Regions from separate parts of the Homo sapiens genome. Here region 2 is linked to region 1. The links are contacts of gene promoters, found by promoter capture Hi-C in human tissues and cell types (Jung and others, 2019). All regions are on one chromosome and are shown on one strand. The core of a region is centred on a gene start or on the middle of the fragment in contact, and the rest is flanking DNA. Distances in the headings are between cores, read along the strand shown.

Region 1 (3,126 bases), core at 280-2,779:
TCTGCCTAGCACAAAAGTATTTGGGTTTTGCCATTTCTTTGTGTCTTTTTCACGTAAAACATATTCAAGAGATGTATGTTTTTCTGTTGTTAATCTGTTTTATGTCAATGTAACGCTCTGACCCACCTCGCGACACTAAGAAAGTCAAGTTTGGCCTCCCCTTACACCCGCTTCCCATTTCTGGGCACACAGACAGTACGGACAATGCTTCTTTGTCGGCGAGAGCCCAGGGACCAGATATGGCCAAGGAAATCCAGCCTCCAGGCCACTTCTGAGGAGCAGGTAGCCGGCGGAGCGCTCCGCCGCGCAGGGGCGGGAGGTGTCCGCGGGCCTCACGAGTGCACAAGCCCGCATTGCGAAGCGCCGCTCGGGCCAAGAAGGAAAGCGCACTGTCCGCGTATTTCAAAGGCGCGTTGGGGCCAGGAGGGCCGAACTGCTGGAACGTGGTTCATGCAGCTGAAGCCCACGGACCCTAAGCGCGGCTCATCGGGAAGGCCCGGAGACAGGTGCTAGGCGCTATCATCCCGCGCCCTCCCAAGCCCGGCGCGCGCCTGTGACGTCACGCCTGGCGGAAGGTGGACGCTACCACCGCCGCGCTCCCCCTCCGGCGCCTCTGCGGCCAGGCCGCCGACTCACCTTCCCGTCCTGATGAAAAGGGAGGCCGGGCTCATCCGTGGTCGCCGGGGGACGAACACAGCCTGTCTCTTCGGCCGCTCCGGAGGCGAGCAGCGCCCCGGCGGCGGCCTCGTAGTCCGGGAAGGGGTTGACGAACGCCCGTTCCTCCATTTCTGCCTCCCCTCCCAGGTGGAGCTTCAGCCTCTTTGACATGGTCTCGCCCATCTCCGCCGCGGTACGGCGCGCGGGCGGGGACAAACCTCCTGTCCCGGCGCTGCAGCTCGCCCCGCCGCCGCCTCCTCCGAGGGCCCGCGCAGAGAGCGTCCTCTAGGAGGAGCGAGGCCGCGCGCTGGCGGGAGGAGCGGGGCGTCTGAGCGTGCACTGCCTCGTCGCGGGCTGCTCGCACATCAGGCGGCCGCAGAGGCGGTGGGCGCTGTGCCTCTGCCCTGTTCCTGGCGCCTTTGCCCTGCTCCCGACGGAGAGGAGCGGGCTCGCGGGAGCGCCCAGCGGCTCACAGCCTGCTCGCGCCTCCTCGCACCTTCCCCGTGGCCCGCAGAGCCCGTCCGCGGCGACGCGCACGGCCGGGGCTGGAGTCCCGGGGTGGGGATCGCTGCGCCCGGCCAGCCCCCTCCGCGATTTCCAAAGAAAACCGAACGCCCGCTAGGGCCACGCTCCCGCGGGGAAAACCTGTAGAGAAGAGGTCGCTGTCACTCAAGGTGTGTGCGCGTCGCCGACCGGGGCGAGCTCAGCCCCTGGCGCGCCGTCGTCAGCCTGCATTTCACCGGCCCCTGCTGCGCCAGCCCAAAGGAATAGCAGCAGTTCTTTGTTTGATATTAAGAAGAAAAAAAAAATCTCTTCTAAAGAACAGAATTTCAAAACAGTCTAAAACACTGCAAGGCTAGTCTCCGAGGGATGGGGGAGGGAGACAGTCCCTCCTATTCATCACTGTTGGAGGGGGGTGTCTGGGAGGAGGAGCCACAGGCCTTTTTTTTTTTCTTTTTATGTTTTATGTTCACTCCCTTTGTTTTGAATAAATGGACATCTTTGATACCGGGACATAAAATGAAAGCATACTTAATTATCCAAACATTTTATCGACCAGAAAGAGTCCTCCAGTGTTAATTGGCAAAGATCATAGTATGTATTATAAAAAGGACACAAGCAACCAGATCTTTACATTTATGTAATCGTGATGTGGTTTACTTCAGTCTTCATTGGTTCTCTTTATTTTTATTTGTTTGGACCAAATACGTGTAATGATTTCTGCTCCTTGAGGAAAATGTCTTATTTCCGTTTTCTTCCGCTCAGTAAACGTTGATTGAGCACCAAATGGTACTAGGTGATGAAGAAATAAGAGATTAAAAAGATAGTTTTGGCTCTCTGGGGATTCCCAGTTATTGGGTGAGAAAAGCAAGGATTACAGCATAGCTGATGTAGGTGCTTTTCTGGAAGCAAGCAAAAATACACGTTAATGTAAAAAGTGACATGATGAAGAAAAACACAGTGCCGAGCACAGGGAAGGCTCGGTTCCTCCTGCCTCCGTGGCCTCGGTGGAATGATGTGGGAAAGTCTGGCTTCCCACTACCTCTTCTAGTGTCCCCCCAACCCCACAGGGCTGGACATGTGAAACACACCCCACCAAGAACATGACCATGGGAAGGTACAGTGTAGAAGAAAATCATTTTAAAGGGGGTACTCAGCATAACTATCTTCAAAGTTCAGGGAAACAGAACAGATACAACAGGATGAGTGTTATAGCAGCATCCCTTAGCTCCACTTTCCTGCTTTCCCCTTTCCTGGGGTCTTTTCTCCCACCAAATTTTCATACCTAGACGGTGTAGGAAAATCCACTCCAGGAACTACTGATGCCGACATGCTCTAGGAGCCATCCTTATCCCACCACAGGGACTTAACTAGACAAAATAACCCACGGTGATATTCCCCAAAGTCTGGGGAACTATCACGCCTTGGACAGGTACAGCAGAAACGTCCACTGCGGGCTTTGTTAGGCTAAGCCTAGTGAATTCTCAGCTCTCCCTACCCAGGAGGGAGGTGAAGATTGTCTCTTCTTCCTGCAGTCTGCTGGTGGATAACTGGCAACTGTTGGCAAGTACAGAAACCTGTCCTAAAGAAAACCAATATTTTCAAAAGCTGAAAAATCGAAACCCAATTTAAGGAGTCGGCATATTTTCCTAAATGCTCTCTTATCGGCAGATCCCCTGCCCTCCTGGACAGCTCACTGACACTATTTTATGGAGAAGTGGTAGGTTCCCTTTCTTCAGCCTCCTGTCCCCTGGGGGTTTTTTAATGCAGAGCACAGGGGATTCCCTTCTGCGGCCCTTTTACACCCAGGGCTATCTTCCCCCGTGGCCACTCTTGAGCTCTTGAGTAGTACAGAGACCTTGGTCAGTGCCTTGAAATTACAACTTTATTTTCCTTAGGACAAGCCAAATTCTTAGGACACCCTCCCCACTCTTCTGTGTAAGAGAAGGGCAAGAGGACATACATGCC
Region 2 (3,126 bases), core at 344-2,843, 240 kb before region 1:
ATAAACATAAAGGTCAACTATAACCCCCAGAGTAAAGGGAGTCAGACTCAGAAAATAAACACTTTGTTCCCTTTCTAGTATGTTAACAGCTTTGGATTGTTGACTGCCCCCAAAGGTCACCAGAACTAAGTTTATTAAACTTAATGCTGTAAGAGAGAACTCCACCTTAACCTATTATGAGGAGCGGAAAGCCAGGAGAAGACATTTATTCATAGTGTTTTAGGGTCTGAGTTGTGTGATTTTGTGATGGATATTTCAAGACTGAAATGTATTGGTACAGCAAAGCCAGGGTCATGAAATTAGTCTTACAAATAAGCTGTTTGGGGTGGTAGGTAAGCTGTTTTAGTCGGTTTACAATATTATTTCTGAAAGCAGTGATTCCTAGAGCAAATAGCTAAGTTATTTTTACTTGTTTTCAGTATTGTTTAAGCCAGGAAAGTATGCCTAATCTCAGAATTGTTTAACATAAAGACACAGAATTACGTTGGTTTCAATCCTCATGACATCGAGGGAAAAAAACCCAAATTAATATCTCAGAAAGTTATCCTGCCACTGAAGTATTAGCAAAAGTCCTTCCCATTCCATCTAGCCTTTCCGTAAATGAAACTACTACCACTTTCAGCTTCAAATTTCTACAAATACATTTCTACAAGATGAACATGCTAAGGCCTTTTAGTCAATATACTGAAGTCAATAGAAACTGTGTCAATGATTCTCTAAAATACTATACTAAAGAGAAAAAACTATGTTTGAAGCAGAAGCCAGATAGATATTTAACTTCTTCCAGCTGTGGTTTCCTTAGTCAAAATAATATTATCATTATTGTGGGCATTAAAGACATAATGCATATGTATTCAGAATAATTTTGGGTGATTTTAAAGTAATGCATTTTTTACTTCAGAAATTATTAGTTCCAAATCGTTCCCACAACTCACAGATATTAAGTGATATCAGAAAGAGAGTTTCTTCTATAACGAAACAAAAAATCCCTCATCCATTCTGACGGCTCTCCAAGGAGGCTTGCTGCCCCATGGTAAAAGAAGTTATGACATGAAAGAAGAAAATGAATCCCATATTTTCTAGAATAAGGGGTTATAAAGAGGTCAGAATGAGAGCAAAGAGGTTAGGCACCAGGGTTCTCATTTATCCTCTTCTATTGTGGTTGTTAAAGATTCTAGAAACATCCTGATGAGAATGGGAGAGTTCAAGAACTCCAGGGCTAATGGCTGTCTTTCTTGGGTGCACGAGTGACAAAGATTTCCTCCTTGACCAAATTTTAGTTAGGCTCCTCTGAGCCTTCTTGACTAAGCCTCTACTTTGGTCTGTCTTTAATAAGAATCCTGCTAATTCAGTTTAGTGAGAATCCTTCACCCTTGATATCTGATCAAGTTCTTCACTTCTCACCCTTGATGTCTAAATCCTTAGCCTGCCTTTAGCAAGAATCCCTCTGCCCTCTCCTTTTAGTAGTTTTGCATCCACTGATGCCTTCATTGTGCTTGTTGGCTGTAACTTCCAACTCCTGTCTTTATTGTATTTGGAGTTGAGCTCAATTTCTCTTCTTTATTGCTAAGTCATGACCCCTCTTACAATAGTTTTGAATAAATCTCACTTACCATTTTTAACAGTGTCTGAATAATTTTTCTTGAATATGAAGGGCACAAAAAGCTAAGAAAATTCTAGATGCAGCCATTTCTGCAATAGTGTGGAATAATGATGGACCAGCAGCAGTAGAAAGTGTTCAACCTCATGAGCCTAAAGAGAGTTTCCTATTCCTGTGTCTTGTGTGTGGTGTACTGGGGTTCCAGAAGCTCTCACTTGTCCTTTTAAGGACACAAGAAGAACCATACATACCTCATAGTAACCATACCCCATAGTAACCAGTCCAGGGCCACCATGGACCAGTCACTCTATAACAGAGATGGTAATGGTTCAGAAATCTTGGCTCAGATTTGAGACCAACATATCCCATCCCCTCTGAAATGAAAGGACAGGAATTGCTTTGTTTATGTGCATATGTTTTGTTCATGTCTGTATCTCCAACTTATTTTTTTGTTTTTAATACAATTTATTTAATTGTATGTTTATATAATTATATAATGGCCAGATTTAACAATTGGCTTGCACAATTCCTGAAATTTTAACAATCACTTCTTATGAACCTGAATAGACCAGCTCCAGCACAGCAATAGTAGTGATTTGAACCAGGCGATGTGAAGTATACATGCCCTAAGAAGTAGGATATCGCCTCTATATTCTAAATAATTAATAGGGCTTGGTATTCTTTTGACATCTCAGACAGCACTGCAGTAAGTACCATGGTCTATAGCTCTGGTTGTATATAAAAATCTCAGTCATCCCAGGTTACAAACAATTGTTTAGCTAACATAATAATATCTTTCATTGTGAAGTATCTTTTTAACCTCAAGATTTAGTATTAGGCACATAAGTGTTTAAGAAAATCTGAATCATGGAATTAATAATTTTTGTTAAAAAAATCTATATTTTGACCTAACATTGTAACTATATATCAGTATTTCATATATATTAATGTATTAGTACTATAATCCAAATTAAAAACTGAAATTTTAGTAGCTGATAAAGATTTAGAATTTTAAGCTGAAAGATTATGACATTTATATTTAATATTATAATATGTAAGAACTTAAATTTATCATATCTATAAGCTTAATTTACTCAATTTATAAAAATGCTTATCTACTTGGGAATATTTGTTATATTAGACAATTGCAAAACAGTATTTTAAAAGGAAGTCAAATATATTATAAATCCAATATAAAATATTAGAGTTTAATTAAGTTTTAAACTGAGATCATATAGTAAAGTCCCCTTAAAATCTTTTATTGAAATACAAAAATAGAATATGAATTTTTAAAACTAAATTTAGAAGTACAAAGAAGGCCAGGCAGGGTGACTCATGCCTATAATTCCAGTACTTTGGGAGGCCGAGGTGGGAGAATTTCTTGAGCCCAGGAGTTCATAACCAGCCTGTGCAACGTAACAAGACCGTGTCTCTAAAACATACCCCATCCCCCCTTGAATTGAAAGGGAAATAATTTTAAAATTTAGCTTGGCATGATGGTGCATACCTGTAGTCCCAGCTATTTG

The links. The method cuts DNA at HindIII sites, captures the fragments that hold promoters and counts their contacts. A contact is called where the count stands out against the background at its distance.
Region 2: a contact is called between a fragment that was not itself captured here and the fragment with the promoter of LANCL2 in region 1, in 1 of the 25 tissues and cell types used here (H1 embryonic stem cells).

The regions. Positions count from the first base shown.
Region 1 is chr7:55,363,740-55,366,865 of GRCh38, reverse strand. It overlaps LANCL2 (LanC like glutathione S-transferase 2), which reads right to left and starts at 1,529. Exons shown (of 9, transcript NM_018697.4): 1 at 637-1,529. The coding sequence starts at 840. RefSeq lists enhancers at 65-304, 335-794, 1,415-1,604 and a silencer at 925-1,344. The HindIII fragment of the contact is 20,479 bases long and covers 1-3,126 here.
Region 2 is chr7:55,605,339-55,608,464 of GRCh38, reverse strand. No RefSeq gene overlaps it. Among named protein-coding and RNA genes, the nearest start is that of VOPP1-DT, 34 kb to the right of the region's middle. The HindIII fragment of the contact is 3,413 bases long and covers 1-3,126 here.